Linked DNA regions of Homo sapiens: regions 2, 3 and 4 are each linked to region 1. Evidence: promoter capture Hi-C in 16 types of primary human blood cells and fetal thymus (Javierre and others, 2016). All regions are on one chromosome and are shown on one strand. The core of a region is centred on a gene start or on the middle of the fragment in contact, and the rest is flanking DNA. Distances in the headings are between cores, read along the strand shown. Region 1 holds the start of PNPLA4 (patatin like domain 4, phospholipase and triacylglycerol lipase). Region 2 overlaps NLGN4X (neuroligin 4 X-linked). Region 3 overlaps NLGN4X (neuroligin 4 X-linked). Region 4 overlaps NLGN4X (neuroligin 4 X-linked).

Region 1 (5,018 bases), core at 952-3,451:
AATGTGACTGAAATTCATTCTTGGGTATGAGGGTGTTAAATTGTTATTTCATTATTGTTCAAAGCTGCTAGAGTACGTAATGATTAACAAATATAATATTCTCCAACTACGGAATCCAGCTCTCACAGTCAGCAAATGATTGATCACTGTCTGGATAGCAGAAAACAGATTTTAAAACATAGATTGCATTAAATAAAGTACTTAATGAATAATTATTTGTATTACTTCTGGATAAATTGCTTGGAACTCAGAGCTTCCTCTTACTGTGAGAATTAAAAAAGAATTAAATTCCTATACCATTCCACTTAATAGAAACTGCATGCCCACATTTTAATTTATGTATCTATTTCTAAGTAGCAGTGAGGTAAGACTTGTTGCCCACATGTTCAAGGCCTTGAAAACAGGCCCCATGCTCTTCTCATGATCATAGAAAGAAGAAATATCCTTTGCTTGAAAGGAACAGAGCTGGAATCTTAAGGATAAATAAAAACTCAAGAGTAATATAAGTCATTTTATTTCCTTATTTCACTATCACCCAAAATAATCTTTTCCACAACCAGAGCACAGATCCCTAATAATTACATCTTAAGAGAAAAGTCCTAATCCTTTCTGTTTCCAAGCAAACGATTATTTCTCTGCAGTGTTAACTTAGTAGAGTCAATGCTGGTGTTTGCCTTTGGGTCTTAATTTCTTGATGAGGAACACAGCCTAAGTTACTACTTAATTACCTCTATTTTTTCTGGTGCTGTTAGCAGAACAGAAGCAACCAACGATCCCGCAGACGCCCCAGCGAAGGCTTTGACATCCTTCACAAGTTTTTTGCCATGTCTGCAAAGTGCAGATGCTGCCCCCAAGTGGTAAATGCCCAGAAATCCACACGCTGCAAATGATAGGTTGATGTGCTTCATTCTAGCTGTAGCACTGGCAATACAAAAAACAAAAATGCTGTAAGTTGGAATAGTTTATCCCACATACTGTGTAGTCTTATGTTGATCATCGTTCCAAGGCTTTCTTCTAACATCATTCTCTGTTTTAAGCACAGTGGTTTCAATTAATTCTAATTAAACACAAGAATCTTTCAAGGAAACCCTTTCTTTCCCTCCTCACCTTGACCCAAGTCTTATACATTAAAACAAAACAAAACAAAAACATTCCACATTTATTCGGTACATAGATTATGAATCTACGATTTAATTACTTGGCAGGAAACAGACGTATAAATTCCAGTTGACAAGGGCATTTGGTCTTTTCTCTTGACCCTTTGAAACGTTTTGCGGGTGGGGGCGGCACTACCATTATGAAACAGAAAATTATTAGAGACCGTATCAAATTCCAAATGAACAATACATTTGTTCTTGGTAAGTGTATCAGAAGATTTCAAATACAGTTCCCTACTCCCCTTCCCAATTTCTATTGTGAGCACCCATGCTTTTATGAACGCCAATACAATTACTCAGTAACGCAATAAGCAATCACTCAACAATGCAATACATTTCTTTGCCAAGTATCTCAACACAAACTGAGGTCATGCCTGGTGAAGGCAATTTAAGGCTCTATGAAATGTCAGCCACGCCACTTTATACTTGGAACACATCTAAATACAAAATTACATGTTTTCCTATGCCTCAGTGCGCACAATTTGCCCAAGTGAATGAAATTGTGCCTCCACAAGGCTGTCCATTCTGAAGGTCTCAGGGTTTCCTTGGGGGCCCAAGGGCCCCATTCAGGGACCCCAAGATGAGGCACATTACAGGGCCTCGAATTTAGGGACCTAAGACCGCCTGTTCCTGATGCACCCGGCCAGGCCCTGTGAGGGCAGGTGGCTCGGCCGCCGCAGGCTGCGCTGGCGTCCGCGTAGGCTGAGTCCCAGTCATCGATCCGGGGTCAAGCCCCAGTTTTGATTCCACTTCTGCAAATGGGGACGGGAAGGGGGTTGGGTGTGTAGCAACCAGGCGGCCAGGCCCAGCCAGCACAGGCTCAGTGCCCTCCCGCGGCTTGGAGGCCGGCAGGGCCGGGGTGGTCCCCGCATCAGTCCCGCAGGAGCACACCCTTGCTGGGCCCCAGGGCTCCGTACCAATGCAGCCCCGGGACACTTCCGTGTTGAACGAGTCCCTTTAACCAGATGGCGGGGCCGGGCCGTCACTCAACGCCATTCCGCCACCAAGGCCGCGCTACGCTCTCCGCGAGCCGGCCCAGGAAAGTCCTGCGGCAGGGGTTGGTACCGCCTCCCGCGCAGGTATGTGACGTCATCGCGCCGACGAAGGCGCCCGCTAGGCCCCGCCTGCTCTATTTAAACTTCTGGACTCAACCTGGCCGCTAGACCGGAGCGTCCTCCAGCGCAGGCAAGGATTCCTCGTTTAGAGTCATGTTATCTTCGAGTACCTAGAGAGACATTTTAACCCACACCCTAGAGAGGCGTTGTAATCCTTACGTGTCTTTTAACGCTACTTGGCCCTTACCTGCGAGCAACTGACCTTTAATAATCCTCATTTTCTGTGCCCCGGAAGTGCCTTACCCTCTTCGCGTCTGTTTCCCGGAAGTGGTTCTTCTCCCTCTCCACCCTTTCGCCCGCCTGGGCGGTCCAGCTGCCCCTAGGGGCCAACTCCAGCGGCTATTTTGGGGCTGGACATCCCGCAGCTTTTCAAGGCGTGCCTTTGGTTTTTTTAAGAAGTGCTATCTAAAGGAAAAGCTGGACTATGACTCTGGGGAACTTTCATATCCTCAGTTGACCTTAGGCTGTGTGACCTTGAGCAGGTAGCATAACCTCTCTGAGTTTCCCGCGTGCCTTATGTGCAGATTGAGATGCTAAAATGAGAGAGCTAAATTGGAAAGCTTTTTCCACATAGGGGGCCGTGAGCAGGTGGCTGTTTTGTCCTCTGGCACCTTTGGCTCAGACTTAAGCAGCTTCAACGACCGCCAAGATGCCTGCCATGCCCACCAAGATTTAAAGGACTCTGATAATTCTTTCTCTCCCCAAACGGTGTTTTCCTTATCTAATCCTAATAACCAAGCCTGGAGGAATCCCTGACTTCGTGATTGAAGGCTCTCCAGGTCCCCTAGTTTAAGGGCAGAGATTTACTTTCTCTGAGGCTACAAAGGAGCGTCTGCGAGAATGTCTCTACCTTAGACAAAACAGGGAGGAGGGGTGGAGCTCTCCAAATTGCCTCTGGTTTGGGCTTTTTCTTTCTGTTTTGGTGTATCGTCTCTGGCCAACAACACCTGTGAGTCCTTGATGTGACGATTAGGGAAGATGTTTTTAATTCACATAACTATTCTTTAGAGAAAATTGATCCTGAAACACCTTATTGCCTTATCGTAGAATGACTGCATTACTCAGAATTCTTTACCTCTACCGGAATTTAGTGAAGGGAAGGCACAACGTACATTAGGAAAATACAGGACACACTCCAGTCCTTAAACCTTCCACAATCTTCTAGCTCTTTAAGGTCGAGTGTGATCCTCCCCAGAACTGCATCTTCCAGGAAGCTCATGAGAAAGGAAGGATCCCAGGTCCCATCTCTGATCTGAGTCGGCATCTGCGTTTTAACAGAATCCTGAAGCAGTGGTCTAACTCCTTTGGTGGTGTTATTGTTTGCATGTATACCTCCAAAATTCACATATTGAAATACTAACCCCCAAGGTGATAGTATTAGGAGGTGGGGCCTTTGGGAGGTAATTAAGTCATGAGGGTGAAGCCCTCATGAATGGGATTAGTACTCTTAGAAAAGGGACCCCAGAGAGGTCTCTTTCCACCATGTAAGGATAAAAGTACACGGAGAAGATGGCAATCTGCAAACTGGAAAAGGGCCCTCCTCAGAACCTGACCATCTTGGCACCTTGATCTCAGACTTCCATCTTCCAGAACTGTGAGAAATAAATTTCTTTTATAAACACTCAGTCAATGCTACTTTATTATAGCAGCCTGAATGGATTAAGACAGGTGGTCTGGTTTAAAGTGATGTGGTGGCATCAGAAGTTTAAGGAGAGACTGGATTTACAGAACCAGAATCTGGGATGCTGTTTACAGAGCAAGTTATTTCCTGCATTTGGACACTGTCAGCAGGTCGATTCAGGAGACAGGTGAAAACTTTATCACCGGGCAGCCTGGATGAACACCACAACTTTGATATCTTTCACTTAAAGGAAAGATAAGGGCATCCACTATTTCTACACCTGGCTGGCAGAGTGAGAGCTCACCAAAGGTAAGTCTCTTTGGAGCAGCAAAATGCTCCATAATTTAACTCTTAAAATTTTAAATTTATTTCCTCCTTACTCCCTTCAATCCCGTATCATATCTCCATGTAACTAGTTAAAAGTTCAGCTCTCAGCTGGGTGAGGTGGCATGTGCCTGTAGTCTCAGCCACTCAGGAAGCTGAGGTGGGAGGATTGCTTGAACCTAGGAGTTCATCTTCAGCCAGAGCAATGTAGTGAGACCTCATCTCTAAAGAAAAAACAAAAAACAAAAAAAGTTCAGCTTTCTAATGTAAGGAAGGATATATTCATTCACATTTGTCTTTGTCATCTCATCGCCAAGCTTAGCACTTGGCCCATAGTATATGATCAATAAATATTTGTTTTGGATGTTGGATTTATGTAAATTACCATTGTGATCTGAATATATAGTAATTTAATTGCTCTTTGAAACTTTTTTTTCTGTAATTAATTTGCTTATTTTTGCTCGTCTATTTTCCTTAGTAATTTAGTTTCAAACGGGTTTGTTTATTTAGCCATTTACGTAATTATTAATCATCTGTTGTATAGCAAGTGTTACGTTGGTACAGGGCATACACAGTTGAAAGAATTCAGCCCTTATCAGGGATGCAGAGTCCAGTGGATAGGGAGACATCTGATGTGTAATTACAGAGGCGTGATGATGTGGTATTGCAAAGCCATGCACAGATGCCCTGGTTGTGCACACCAGCTACGGAGTAGGAAACCTTTAGCTTCGGGAGGTGCCTACAGTAGCACCCAGCACAGAAACAAAATGCCCCAGCTTGATGGCTCCTTTTCCTCTCCAG
Region 2 (5,018 bases), core at 1,373-3,872, 1.9 Mb before region 1:
TGGAATGGATAGAAGCTAGATACATATAAAATTTTCTCCTTTCTGCAAGTTCACAGTTTCAAAGACATTTCCTAAAGTCTTTCCCTGGTCAAAAGCATGGAAATTTAATTATCAATTCAAGTTTGCTCTGAGATCAAATGGAGACACTGGGGTTGTCAATAGTCAAATTAAATCCTAAGCTAAAATGCCCCTGAAAGTAACAGATAAGGAAGAAGAGAGCCCTGGGACAGTTTTTAGTCTTCCATGTCAGGATGCTGTGGGGTACGATGACATGTTTTGTTTGATTGTTGTTTAGTTTGTTTATATGCTCCTTTCAGGACCTTTCTACACTTTTAAAGAGAGCATCCCAGTGAAGGATATGACAACTTCAGACTTTATTTTTCTTCTATTTAAGAGGAAATTCACGTAACATAAAGTGAACCATTTTAAAGTGTACTGTTCTGTTCAATGTCATTTAGTATATTTGCATTTTTGTGAATCTATCTCTAGAAATTTTTCATGTTCGCAAACTGAAACTCTGTAACCATGACACGCTAATTCCCTATAGTCCTCTTCCAAGCACCAGCAACCACTAATCTACTTTCTGTCTCTATGAATTGAATCCAAATATCCATCAAATGAAAAATAGATAAACATAACAGAATGCGGTCTATCATACAATGGAATAGTATCCAGCCATAAACCAGCATGCGGTACTGATTGATACATGCTACAATGTGGATGAACCTTGTAAACCTTGTAAACATTTTATTAGGAGAAAGAAATGAGATATAGAGTGTATGATTTCACTTATATGAAATGTAAGATTATGTGAATACATAGAGATGGGTTTTTAAAAGTTACTTTATTTTCTACCACTCAAAAATTACCATGTCCATTCCAATATTGCAGGATATGAGATACTGAACATGCTCTAACATGGTGATGATTACAAATAGTCAATTAAATCACAGATACCATAATGTTTTATTTTACTGTGATATAGAGAATATGAAATTGATCATTTAAACTATTTTTTGGTGTATAATTGAGTGGCCTTAAGAACAGTCACATTATTGTCCAACTGTCCCCACCATCTATCTTCAGAACATTTTGTACCTTTCCAAACTGAAACTCTATCCATTAGGAAATAATTTTCCATTCTCTCCGCCTCTCAGCCGCACACAAACACCATTCAACTTTTTGCCTCTGTGAATTTGACAACTCTACGTACCTCATATTGGTAAAATCATACAGCTTTTGTCCTTTTGTGACTAGCATGTAGCTTATTTCTCTTAGAATGATGTCCTCAAGGTTTATTTATGTTGTAGCATGTATCAGAATTTCCTTTCTTTTAAGGGCTGAATAATATTCCATTTCAGCAGTGTGTGTGTGTGTGTGTACACGCATAAATATATACATATATATCACTTGTTTATCCATTCATCCATCAATGGATAGTTGGCTAGTTCAAAAGTTCAGTTTTTAGCTATTGTGAATAACATGGTTAAGGACTGCGTATACAAATATCTCCTGGAATTCCTGCTTTCAATTCTTTTGAGTATATACCCAGAGGTAGAATTGGAGTATATACCCGGAGGTAGAATTGTTGGATCACATATGGTAGTTCCATGTTTACTTTTTTGAGGAACAGCCAAAGAGTTTTCCACAATGACTGTACCATCTTACATTCCCACCAGCAATGTGAAAGAGTTCCAGTTTCTCCACATCTCCATTACAACTTCTTATTTTACGTTTACTTTATTAACAGCCATCCTAATGGATATGATTTCCATGATCTGAAAACATGATTTCTTGTGTATTATTGAGAATGTCAACAATTGAGATTTTCAATGTACTGTCCCAGGCTCCTAAGACTCAACAATGAATGAAACAAACAACAATTAATGCCCTTGAAGAGCTGACATTTCGGTGGGTGGGTACTGACTGGAAGAAAAGCAATTGAGTTGCAGTATAATTGTGGCCAAGATGGAACGAGTCATAGATTTGACTGGAAATTGGATCCACTTCTGCCACTGTCAAGTTTTGTGACCCTGACCACAAGCTTTCATTTCTTCATTTTTCAAATGTGGTTGGTTGTCCAGGCCCGTGGGAACACGTATGAAGACATACACCACTTTCACAACACAGGGGGCCCCTGTTTCAGCCAGATCCAAGAGAATCTGCTCTCTGTTCACAGAATGAACACATCTAAATCATAACTCTCTATCCTGCATTTTTCTTCTGTTTTGTCTCTTCTTACATTTTCTTTTCAGGTTCTATGGCGATTTGAATTTGAGACTCAATTCCAAATGTATCCCACGTCCAGTTATTCCAATGTGATGGAGAATCACAAAGTGAAGCAAGTGGGATATACTGCTAACCATGAATAAGAGGTTAGAATGTCTTGTTCTGATTAAGAGCAGTCAATTAGGGCTAATTTCCTGTAGGAGTACAGATAAATATCTTGCCTATAACTTGCAGGTGAGTGACTACAAAACTTGCATTTATCTAGCAACCTTCAGTACCATTCTGCTGACTGCTGACATCAGGAAATATCCCTTTGCTGCCTAGTTAGTGTTGTTGTCATGAATTTGGGGGTGGGAGTGGGGGTGCTTCCTGCTTGTAGACCCTCACCTTTAGACCTCCTGGATCTCCCCTATGAACCTGCCATTTAAAATGCTCAATCAGCCTCCAGGACTCTAACAAAGACCCTTCCATCTGTTATAATTGATGAATGAGTCTGTAGTTTAGTGATCCTACTGCCTTCTGCATTAAGTATTTGAATTATACTTTTTGGACAATATGAATATCTCAAAGTTCTTTTTATTTTATTATTATTATTATTATTATTATTATTATTTTAGACGAAGTCTTGCTCTGTCGCCCAGGGTGGAGTGCAGTGGTACAATCTCAGCTCATTACAACCTCCGCCTCCCAGGCTCCAGCGATTCTTGGGTCTCAGCCTCCCAAGTAGCTGGGATTACATGTTTGTGAGACCATGCCCAGCTAATTTTTGTATTCATAGTAGAGACGGGGTATTGCCATGTTGGCCAGGCTGGTCTCAAACTCCTGGTCAAGTGATCCACCTCCCATAGCCTCCCAACGTGCTGGGATAACAGGCGTGAGTCACTGTGCCCAGCCTCAAATATCTTTTTCTACATCAATTTAGGGATTACTCATTTTGAATCACAATAATCTCTATTTACCAAACAACAAAAGGAAGCTTTCAAATTTGAACTTCAAATAAATGAGCTCAGGATAAATTACAGGCAAACACTACTAACTTCCTATCATTGGTATATTCAAAAGTTAAATGAAAATTCCACTGCAAATTAAAGAATAGTAAATGGGACTCATTAATAATATCCTAGTTGTACTCTTCCATCCATATCTTAAAGTGTTTAATAATCTATTAATCTATACTTGCACCAGAACTATTATTTCACAATATAAAGTATCTCAGAGTCAAGAGACTTTCCTAAATATGATAATAAAAAAGAAAGAAATGTTGGCACTATGAAAACCTGCTGTTAGTCTTACCCACAAGATCCTTTATATTTAAACCAATAAGCTTGCCAACCTGTGGCAAATGAGAGCATTCATGCTGGCCAAAAGTAAAGCAAGCGTATTTCCATTCAAATGAATGAATCTCTACCAATACCCAACATCTCAAATTCAGAAATATATATATATATATATATATGTATACACACATACATATCTACTTCTACAGCAGGAATTTCTGGCATGATCCTAGTAAAATTTTTAAAAGTCTAAAGAACTTCTTTATAATGGCCATTTTTATTTTCACCGGCCAAACACTCTGCTGGAGATGCAATAAGATGATACCATCTGAAAGAAAAATATCTCTCCACCGATCAGTGAATTAAGATCTCATGAGGTTTAGGTATCGTTTTTCTCCATCTAGGTCCTATAATCCATGGCCTAAAATTGGCTTTCACCAGAATATAGGTCCTACCACCGCCAGGGGTCAAGGCAGCATCTGTGAATCAGACACCATTAACACCATCTTCTGGAGAACACCTGACTTGTTTGAACGTTATGTAATCGTTACTCACCTGTCTTTAAAACCAGGAAAGGATGTTACACGATCTCTTCATGGTACCGTGGGGTGAGGAAAAAGTAAAGATAAAAAATAACACCATCTCACAAATCTTGGGTTCTGGTAAATCAGATATGTTCTAAAGAGAAGGCTATGAAACAGTTGAGTTTGAAAAAAAAAATGAGGCATTACAAGGCCATTGATTTCATTAAAAGTCCATGAGTCGTTTTAAAACTTGAGATATATTTGAATAAGACCCTTTTTTAAAACCTGCATTAATCTTTGATTTTAATTTTTAGGAACCTCCATTTTCACATGGCACATGCCCAAATTGCAATTCCAAGGCAGAGCATTAATGAGCATTTGTAATCAGATTTAATCACAGAGGGAAAAGACAGAAAGAATATCCAAGGTAAAAGGTTTTGCTTTATATTTATAGCCTGTAATTTAAGAAGGAAGTGTGAAATATAGCTTTGCGTATTGCTGGAGCAAAAGCACAAGTTTTGTGGCCAACGGGGAAAAACGCTTTTACTCCTTGTCAAACTGATGGAGAAGTTTTAAAGGCTCAGGAAATAAACTTTCAGATACTGCATGACTACATTATTTGGAAGCAAAGAGGATGCAAGAAGGAGATGAAGAATCCCAGATTGTCCTTAGATCTTCTTGCCAGAGTGTGGCCTAGTAAGGAGAAAGCCAGGTGGCATCCTGAATACATTGGTTGTACACACATGTGTAGTGTAAATATCTGAAACACCTATATTCATACATATATATTGCAATAATGATGTGTTGGGTGGAGTGGGTTGCGTAATATCCTCCAAAAATACATGTCCACCTGGAAACTCAGAATGTGACCCTATTTGAAAATAGGGTCTTTGCAGATATAATTAGTTAAGGATCTGCAGATAAAATTATCCTGAATTGAGGGTATAACCCTAAATCCAATGACTGGTATCTTTATAAGAAAAGGAGA
Region 3 (5,018 bases), core at 1,822-4,321, 1.9 Mb before region 1:
TTTTTAAAAAATAGCAAACATGATGATCTTCTGATTTATTTAATGTCTACAAGTGTCTTGTAATGTTATTTTAAATTAACATGGTTCAGTCTGGATGCCAATATTTGATAGATATTAGTTAGCCATTACAGGTTGGGTCAGCTACAATTCTTACTGTGGATAAACAGTAGTATTAATACAATGCATAATGGTATTAATAACACTAGAAATTGTAGTGTGACTGGGTATAATGGTTGCTGCTGAGAGCCTATGAAACTTCATCTACATGAGTCCATTAAATCTTTTTTAAAAGGTTATTTTTTGGCCAGGCACAGTAGCTCATGCTGATAATCCCAGCACTTTGGGAGGCCAAGGCAGGTGGATCTCCTGAGGTCAGGAGTTTGAGACCAGCCTGGCCAAAATGGCAAAACCCCGTCTCTACTAAAAATACAAAAATTAGCGGGGCGTGGTGGCAGGCGCCTGTAATCCCAGCTACTGCGGAGGCTGAGGCAGGAGAAGCGCTTGGACCCGGGAGGCAGAGGTTGCAGTGAGCCGAGATCATGCCACTGCCCTCCAGCCTGGGCAATAAAAGCGAGACTCCATCTCAAAAAAAAAAAAAAAGAAAAGAAAAAAGTTATTTTTTTATTGACAAGCAGATTATATATTAATGAGGTAAAGTGTGGTATTTTGAACCATGGAACTTTTATACTGTACAACAACCTTGCAAGGGAGAGACCACTGCCTTCTACATCTAAGGAAAGAGTCTGAGGAAACGCTAGCTGACTTTCTCAAGGCAGAGGTAGAGGAAAGTTGTTAGCTCCTGTCTGTCTCTGGCTGCGATCTACATTCTTTCCAATGCCAGCATTCCGCTTCCATTATGGGCATGTTTCATCTTTTTAATCCTCTCTTTTGGGTAACAGAGAATAGCATTTGTTACTCCATTAAAAAAAAAAAATCTTAAAACAATATTTTTCCATTCCTCAGGTAGGAAGATAACATTTATGCATTTATGACTTTTACTGGAAGAAAAAGAACTCAAAGAATATTTCAACTTTTTGCCTAAAATTGTATCTACTTGTATGAAATGCACTCACTGAAATGATCATTGCAGTGCCTGCTGTGTATTTTATTTGATCATCTTTTTAAATATCTGGATGCCAAAGGTTTAAAAACATTTTTTCAAGACCGATAATAGGAGTTTCCTGCAAGCAAAAAGTAAATGCCGCCTAGCTGTTTTCAAGAGGACAATAGTAAATGCAAGATCCATGATAAAAACCAACGCAGTCACATTTTAAAGTCTCTATCGTCCTGTAAAATCGGCAAACTTGGCACATTTCATTCCATCAAATGAAAGGGGGTCTGTAGTGTGCTTGGCTGTTCCACACTAGCTCATTGGAGGAATGTAAATAGACCGGCATAGAGATGCTAAATCGCTTCTTTTATTTCTTCCCCACCAATTTTACAGCTCTCTGTTATCTTATGACTTTTAAAAACTCTCCATAACAAAAAGTAGACTTAACAATTTTTCAATTAGTTTTTTTTTCCTCTAAAAAAAGTGTGTATACTTTCCAGGCTAATTTGCAAGATGTGCAATTGATTCACGAAGGGACAAAACTGATAAAAAAAAAATCATAGTGTAGAGTTGCTTGATACAACTGAGCTTTAGGGGGAAAAGGAGATCAATTTATTTTGAAACTCTATCTTATCAGACACATCAATTCATCACGCATGCAACAGAATATTGTGTGGTTCCAGCAAAGCAAGAATTTTCTTGATGCCCACTGCTTCCCTCAGAAAAGCATGCCCAAGCTTTCTTCCGTGTGGCCGTGCTACAGGCAGTGCACACACTGCTCCCTTTGAAGAGGGCCTGTGCAATGCCCTCACACATACTTTCCTCCTTCCACCTCTTTGTCAGAATGAACCTTTTGTAAAACATCAAGAAGCACAATTTCCTGTTTCCAACACTAGTAGCCAAAGCAACTATCCAGCGCCTCTGAAAACTATTCAGTGAAGCGTGCAATTACTGCTATGCAAAAGTTCAGAGACATTATTCCGCCAAGATGTGGCTCACAGAAAACTACAAAAAATATAGGAAATAAAGCCAACGACATAATAAGTTTTTTGACACTAAAAGGTTTTTTGGTGGTGTTTATTTTCTTTAATGCAGAAACCAACCTGGAATTTTGAGTTCTTTATCAATGTTTCAAAAGATACAACTTTAGCAACACCTGTGACTGATTTGCATTTCAAAGTAAGAAATGCATTTCTCTTAGGGTTTCTTACAACACCTCTTAGGGTTTCTCAGCAATTCACCACCTTTTAGGGCTTCTTACAGGTTAATGTTTTCACATAGGAAAAAAAAAAACCCACTCAAAATGAAATGAAGTCATCTGATTGAAAAGAAAATATTCTTGGCCATATTTGAAGAAAACATTTTCAGTCATATTTCTTGTTTGACAGACCTCCTTTAGTCCATCTTATTTTGCTTTTTATTTTAATTAATTTATTACTAGTATTATTATTATTTTTTTTTTTTTGAGAAAAGTCTCACTCGGTCACCCAGGCTGGAGTGCAATGGCGCTATCTCTGCTCATTGCAACCTCGACCTACTGGGTTCCAGAGATTCTCCCGCCTCAGCCTCCTGAGTAGCTGGGATTACAGGCGCCTGCCATCAGGCCCAGTTAATTTTTGTATTTTTAGTAGAGACAGGGTTTCACCACTTTGGTCAGGCTGTTTTCTAATTCCTGACCTCAAGTGATCTGCCTGCCTGGGCCTCCCAAAGTGCTGGGATTATAGGCGAGAGCCACCACACCTGGCCTTCATTTTGTTTTGTATTTCATATTGTATCATAATCACACTGGAACCAATATACACATCTCTCTCATGGCTAACTTGTTAAAAACTTTATCTTCTATACCATTTTAATGCATTTTTGCCTGGAAAACAAATGTTTTTACATAGGTCTTAGGAATATTATTCACAAACTAACCAACACCAGGAAAGGCCATCTCAGAAGGTACTGAAATCTGACTCTGAAGATGTATAATTTTCCAACCTACAATTAGAAGAAGATGAATGATGGCCGGGCGTAGTGGCTCACACCTGTAATCCCAGCACTTTGGAAGGCCGAGGCAGGCGGATCACGAGGTCAGGAGTTCGAGACCAGCCTGGTCAATATGGTGAAACCCTGTCTCTATTAAAAACACAAAAATTAGCTGAGTGTGGTGGCATGCGCCTGTAGTCCCAGCTACTTGGGAGGCTGAGGCAGAAGAATCACTTGAACCCGGGAGGCAGAGGTTGTAGTGAGCCAAGATCGCACCACTGCACTCCAGCCTGGGCGACAGAGTGAGATTCCATCTCAAAGAAAAAAAAAAAAAAGAAAGAAAGAAAAGAAATGAAACATCAAAACAAGGAGGAACTAAACTTGAATTTCCATGTATTTAGCCTTTAATCGTAGATCATCAATGGACAAAAGTCAACTAACAGCTAAGTTTCCCTGCATGCAAATGCAATGGAACCAAAACAACAGATCTTCCAAAGGCTCAACATAATCAGTTAGAGAATTGGATAAAATCTTTTCCTCCACACAATATACTGATTCATACAATGACACAATCAGAAAAGAAAGCTAAGATCTATGGCCATTCCCAACTATAATATCACCAAATATGTGTTCATTGTACAGGTCTATGTAGACAAACATACATTCATTGAACTCCAAGGGAGAAACATGCTATAAATAAAATTTCATTTCATCTTTAAGATCTTAAAGTCTGCATTGGTTTGAGAAGGGATTCATGACCATGTTGCACAAAGGTAGTAAAAGGAATAAACATATCCAATCACATAAAGTAAATACCGTGAAGTGGAATTAACCAGGAACTGGAATAACAGGATTCAAATCCACGAGCCCCGTCAAAACGAGAAGTGGACTTTTCATGTTTCCTCTTGCTCAGTCATTCACATGATGAAATCACTTACCTAGTATTCCCAGACGGTAGTTAATGGTGATCACGATGACGTTTCCGTAGCTTGCCAAAATGCTGCCGTCAATCATGTTGCCGGTGCCCTCCATGTAAGATCCCCCATGGATATAGACCATGACGGGCTTCTTACTGTTCTGATCATGAATATCTGGAAAAAAAAGCCAAGTAAGGAAACACAATAAAGAATCACACTGACTCACCAATGCTAAATTAAGAAAAAAGGAGATTCACTGATTTCCCTATTTTGACTTGAATTAAGCACATTTATTTTTATGGATGATATGACCCTTGATAAGAGTGTCTAAGGAAAATGATCAATGCTATTACGTTTTCTATTTATGGAAATGGTATTTTAAGAAGCATACAGACATTTAGCGTACTCTGCTCATCTAAGCTTCTATATATATCTAAAGCACTAAAAGAAATGGTTTTAGGTAAAGTACACATTTCCTAAATTTTGCTCAAACCCTAAAATGTGATTTAAATTGAATAAACACATGGGACCCTTGATGAAATATATTTTATCTTCTAATTAAGTATAAAATCAACTTCAAAATTATAATTAATTTTAATATAGTTGCATCTTAATTCGCAGGTGAGTGTACAGATTCATCTTCAATTTAACAATAAAAACATAAAAGTAGTAGTGAAGCTATAAACTATCAATAAGGGACAGATAATGACAAGAAAGCAAAATCAACAGTTAAAAATTATTAACTGAACAGAAATAGGGAAAAAAAAGAAAAGATGTCCAAGCAAATGTCTTTGTTCCAGTGATTACAGTAACATACTAACATACTTAGGTGACAAAAATAAAAGAGATGTAATAAAAAATGGCAAAAGAATCCAAACTATTTAAATGCTTTATATTTTCACAGGGAATATAAACTCCCATTGTGACTTGCAACCAATGATTCCTCTTGGTAATTTACTTTATTATTTAAATTAACAATGATGTAAAAACAATGATCTGTGATGATAGAAAGTTGGAGACCATCTGTAGGGCCTGCTTTGTGAAAAAGACCTGTTTTATAACATTAATCAGCCATTAGG
Region 4 (5,018 bases), core at 816-3,315, 1.7 Mb before region 1:
TCTCCATACAAGTACACAACATTGCACAATATTGATGGACAAGAGAGGGTAGAATTTTGTCACACATAGATAGTTTCACTATAAACATAGGCGGTAACACCTTTTTTGGAACTAGTACTCAAATTAGAAAAAAAAAGCTTCCAGGAGACCTAGAGAAAATGGACACCTGTCCCTTAAACACATACTTTCTACTTACTTAGGTCTCATGTTAACGAATGTCTTCACTCCTAAATAAGGAGTACATCCAGACCCATCATAGGTAACTTTATAACTTTCTTTTTTTTTTTTTTTTTTTTTGAGACAGAGTCTCGCTCTGTCACCCAAGCTACAGTGCAATGGCACGATCTTGGCTCACTGCAACCTCCCCCTCCCAGGTTCAAGCAATTCTCCGGCCTCAGCCTCCTGTATAGCTGGGATTACAGGCACACACCACCACACCCAGCTAGTTTTTGTATTTTTAGTAGAGACAGGATTTCGCCATGTTGGCCAGGCTAGTCTTGAACTACTGACCTCAGGTGATTCGCCCACCTCAGCCTCCCAAAGTGCTGGGATTACAGGCGTGAGCCACCACGCCTGGCCAACTTTATAACTTTCATTGTACATTTTCTATTTTTATTTATTATTTATTTATTTATTTATTTATATTTTTAGAGATAGGGTCTTGCTCTGTCTCCCAGGCTGGAGTACACTGGCGTAATCATAGCTCACTGCAGCCCTGAACTCCTGGGCTCAAGTGATCCTCCCACCTCAGCTGGAACCACAGGTACTTGCCATCAGGCCCGGCTAATTTGTTTTTAATTTTTGTTTCTTTGTGGAGTTGGGGTCTCACTCTATTACCCAGGCCAGATGTTATGAGTTGTTTAATATAGATTTGGTGAATGATGAGGATAAGAAAAAGAAAATAATGGAAAACCACATTTTTCCTTCTTATATTATATATATATATATATATATATATATATATATATATATTTGCTTTTATCTAATGTGTTGCAATGGCTGAGAAAAACATTTTCAGCAAAGACTAGTTCCTAGTTAATGTGTTAGCATATGCATACATGTATGTGTATACACCCGCTCATACACACTGCCATTCTTACCATGTAGCTTCAGGGCATGAGGGCATATTGTCTCACTTAGGAAAACAGTTAACAATGACATATTTTGTTTGTGAAAACATGCATTTACTTTTGTGAGTTTCCCCACCTAACCCATTCACAGAGTTATAGTCACAGAGAGTACTGAAGAGTGGAATAAGTTAAAGGCACTCAGTTGCAGCGAGCTTCTTCTGCCCCCATCCCCCATGCTTTTGAGACCACAGTTCCATGCTGAACAGCTCTGACCATTGGAGTCACACGGCATGCCTCACTGAGTTCTTGGACTTGCCCGTCCCATACTCCAGAGCCACATATTGGTGGTGTTGAAATACTAAACATGGAAAATGGCACCGCATGCAACTTCACCACAGCCATCATCACAGAACCAAAGAGGCCTTTTCTGCACTTTACAAAAACAAACCACAATTCACCATAGCTCTTTTATCAGTGCCAATAACACTTTTAGTAACCTCAGTCCTTTCTTTTTTAAAGGATCCAAAAACTTACCAAGTAATGCAACTTGAAACAACCCAAGTTCCTTTTCAGCTTATATGACAGGCTAAGTTTCACTCCTGAAAAAGGTGCCCTTAGCAAAATCCGTGTCCCCTCTCCCCAACCAAAGCATACAAACAACCAAACAAAAACAAACAGAAAATGAGCCTGGATGAAGGGTTGATGTGGGAGCCGGACAGATGCCCACAGATGTTAATAAAATCACATGTCTGGGGTGATGGCTTTGAGATCCAAGTTTTCATCATCCAATCAGGTACCAGCCTCTTAAAACCAAAATGATCACCGATATTAACAGGTGGAGCTAAGAAAGTCCTGTTGTAAGCCAAAAATAGCACTCTGTTACTTTGACAAACCATGATTTCTTTATATAATATACATTTTAAATAAAACAACCCAAACAAAATTCTGGGCCATTTATCCACATTTCCAGAGAGCAGTGAAAGCCTAGATCGTTTCATTAGCACTATACTGAAATTAACATTTCTCTCTTTGAAATGTATTCCTCAACTAATGAGGACCTAAATGTTCATTGTACTTCATCTCCTTTCTAAATTATGGAGGATTACTCTTTTCCTGTCTCAAATAAATTCAATAAAACCTCATGATATGGTTTGGCTTTGTCCCCACCAAACCTCATCTTGGATTGTAGCTCCCATAATCCCCACGTGTCGTGGAGGGATGTGGTGGGAAGTAATTGAATCATGGGGGCAGTTTGCCCCATGCTATTCTTATGATAGTGAGTAAGTTCTCACAAGATCTGTTGATTTTATAAGGGGTTTCCCCCTTCACTCGGTTCTCATTCCTCTCCTTCCTGCCATCATGTGAAGAAGGAAGTATTTGCTTCCCCTTCCACCATGATTGTAAGTTTCCTGAGGCCTCTCCAGCCATGCTGAACTGTGAGTCATTTAAACCTCTTTCCTTTACAAATTACCCAGTCTTGGGTATGTCTTTTTTAGCAGCCTGAGAATGGATTAATACACCTCATCTCACTATATATATAATAATAAGATATATAGTGTATTTTTATATACATGATGCAGACCTTACTATAATATGTATTACCATATATATATTATATAGTAGGATACATATCTTACTATATATAGTTTTTTATATACGTATTTTAGTATTGTTGGGGTTAGGTCTGTTCTCCTTCAGGTACCATTTCTGGGAAGATGAGAGTGCCTTGGGAAGATGTGGTGTATGGAGGTGTTCCGCACACACCTGGGACACGTGAACTGAACACGAGATGTCTAAAGTTTGAAATCTCAGCCCGAGGTAGATGGGCTGTTTTCCACCACCAACCTTCCACTCCCGTAATGATTTTATGAGGCTTTTATTTACTTATTTTTTGTTTAATGTAACCACCTGCAGAGGGAAAGCCTTTTCATCTATACATTTATTCAAAGCCTATAAATGGCACAATGACAAACTGCTAGGAGCTATCACCTTCTTTTTTTTCTTGTTCATGTGTGCTACTGTGCTCCAAGAAAAATGAGGAAGGGCTTCCTACACTGCCGTTCACTTAACAAAGAACAGTGGAGCCTTTCAAAGTCCAAATGTAGGTTGTTTAGAGAAAAATGACAGAACTGGAAAATATTCGTTGAGTGAATGGTAGTAGAGAGCACAGCAGATGACCTAATTGCCTCAGCAGCCTGGGCTTCAATTTTGATTCTCACTTCCTCTAATTGACTGTGCAAAAGATGTATCTTTGATTTAAAACTGGTAGCTCAGGAGTTTAAGAAATCAGTGGTGGCTATTCAAATCTGTCTGAATATCCATTCACATAATTAAATAGGAGACGAAGTCTCTCCTCTGAAAAAGTACAGTACTCAGACAAAAACACACACAAAAAGAGCAACAGATTTAAACTAAACTGAACATATTTCCCCATTTGGGAATAGAATACATATTGTTAAAAGGCAGAAAGCAGTACAGAAAGAATACATTCTGGTTTACAAACTAAAATCGTGTCTCTTACACTTGACATTCACATCTTAAGACCAACTCTCACCTTATTTGGAATATAAGTATATTTTAACCAGATAAGCCTATCTTTAGAAGGAGGATACTAAAGGACTTAAAATATTTGTATATTGCTACTTCATTTGAATGCAATGCATTCGCTCAACAAGTTGCATTATTGGCAATATTCAACAGTATTACAAAAGGTTTGAAATGTGGCGTACCAATTAAAAAGAAAGAATGTTAAACGGAGGTCATTCCCTCGTGCACTTGAATGTTTAGTTTTTTGAGAACCTTTTGGTTGTGGTCTAGAAATAAAAGCACAGTATTCCAAATGGCTTTTAAAGAGACCCCTGCACTTCCAAAAGCAAGTCTCTGTTGCGGAGTCAGTCAACACTCTCATCTTTGTGGAGAGACTATAAGCTTTCCACAAATTACTACACACAAAACAATGAAATAGCCAAGTTCACAAATTTTAAAAAATCTATATATTTACCATTAGGCTACATTCCAGGCCAACAACTATGAACTTTCAAATTCTTTCAAGTCTGCTTGTAAATTTCACAGCATCAAGATAACTTCATTATCTACCTTATGCAGCCACCAGTCCCTTATCAAGTATCTGTTACATTCTCAGGTTTGGGTAAAAATCAGCTAGGTTACTGGTTTGAGGGCCAACTGTATACTCGGCATTAGTTTATTTAAATAAAACGCAAAGAAAAGTAGCAATTCTTCCACTGGAGAAGAAAACATCAAAGCATCTTTAAAACTGCATCCACGCACAGGCATTATTATGAAAATGCAATTATTATTCTGATTTCAAAAAAAAATGAAGCCTTCCATTTTAATCTACTGACTTAAAACTGATGAAGTAATTTTCCACTTGCTACAACTGGCCCTGATTATGTTCTTACATGTCAAAGAAAATACTCTTTAAAATGGCCATATATATATATATATATATATATATATATATATACACACACACACACATATATGTAGAAATGTAGAATGCGTGTGTGTATGTCTGTATACACACATACACACACACGCATTCTACATTTCATTGAGTAATAAAATACTGAATTTCTAATCTGAGAAAATACATGCTTGCAGAGTTCTCCATGAAATTCCTGTATTCTTAATTTTAGGATACACAGAAATTCCATATTTTTTTCTGGAAATACAGGGATTAATGCAACCATGTGCCATTAGCCATCCCTCCCCCACTTAACATTTTGCTCATTTCCACAGGAAAATCTATGCTGAGGATTTAATGGATTACTGCTAACATCTTCCCCACAGCCAACTAAAGGTATGAAATAATTCTCCACTCTCCAAATCTGCCCCCACAAAACGGCAGATTTCTTTGCTATCTGATTTCACCCCGCTCTGCCATCCCCTAGGAAAAGGCTCAGTGCGTCCATTCAAACCATGCAGGTC

What was found. The method cuts DNA at HindIII sites, captures the fragments that hold promoters and counts their contacts. A CHiCAGO score of 5 or more calls a contact.
Region 2: a contact is called between a fragment that was not itself captured here and the fragment with the promoter of PNPLA4 in region 1, in 2 of 17 cell types (naive B cells and total B cells). The highest score is 7.4, in naive B cells.
Region 3: a contact is called between a fragment that was not itself captured here and the fragment with the promoter of PNPLA4 in region 1, in 6 of 17 cell types (naive B cells, fetal thymus, endothelial precursors and 3 more). The highest score is 12.9, in naive B cells.
Region 4: a fragment that was not itself captured here is called in contact with the fragment with the promoter of PNPLA4 in region 1 in 1 of 17 cell types (fetal thymus); the score reaches 11.9 in fetal thymus.

What each region holds. Positions count from the first base shown.
Region 1 is chrX:7,925,212-7,930,229 of GRCh38, forward strand. It overlaps PNPLA4 (patatin like domain 4, phospholipase and triacylglycerol lipase), which reads right to left and starts at 2,202. Exons shown (of 7, transcript NM_004650.3): 1 at 2,075-2,202; 2 at 729-921. The coding sequence starts at 908. It overlaps LOC107985675 (a long non-coding RNA gene), which reads left to right and starts at 2,289. Exons shown (of 5, transcript XR_001755784.2): 1 at 2,289-4,202. RefSeq lists a silencer at 637-931 and enhancers at 908-957, 1,620-1,849, 2,080-2,319, 2,340-2,389, 2,730-2,809. The HindIII fragment of the contact is 3,086 bases long and covers 1-2,830 here.
Region 2 is chrX:6,007,704-6,012,721 of GRCh38, forward strand. All of the region lies in intron 3 of NLGN4X (neuroligin 4 X-linked), which reads right to left. Among named protein-coding and RNA genes, the nearest start is that of NLGN4X, 220 kb to the right of the region's middle. The HindIII fragment of the contact is 1,161 bases long and covers 2,043-3,203 here.
Region 3 is chrX:6,025,320-6,030,337 of GRCh38, forward strand. NLGN4X (neuroligin 4 X-linked) reads right to left here. Exons shown (of 6, transcript NM_181332.3): 3 at 3,961-4,113. Among named protein-coding and RNA genes, the nearest start is that of NLGN4X, 200 kb to the right of the region's middle. RefSeq lists an enhancer at 1,729-2,302. The HindIII fragment of the contact is 2,571 bases long and covers 1,787-4,357 here.
Region 4 is chrX:6,220,459-6,225,476 of GRCh38, forward strand. All of the region lies in intron 1 of NLGN4X (neuroligin 4 X-linked), which reads right to left. Among named protein-coding and RNA genes, the nearest start is that of NLGN4X, 5.9 kb to the right of the region's middle. The HindIII fragment of the contact is 3,861 bases long and covers 136-3,996 here.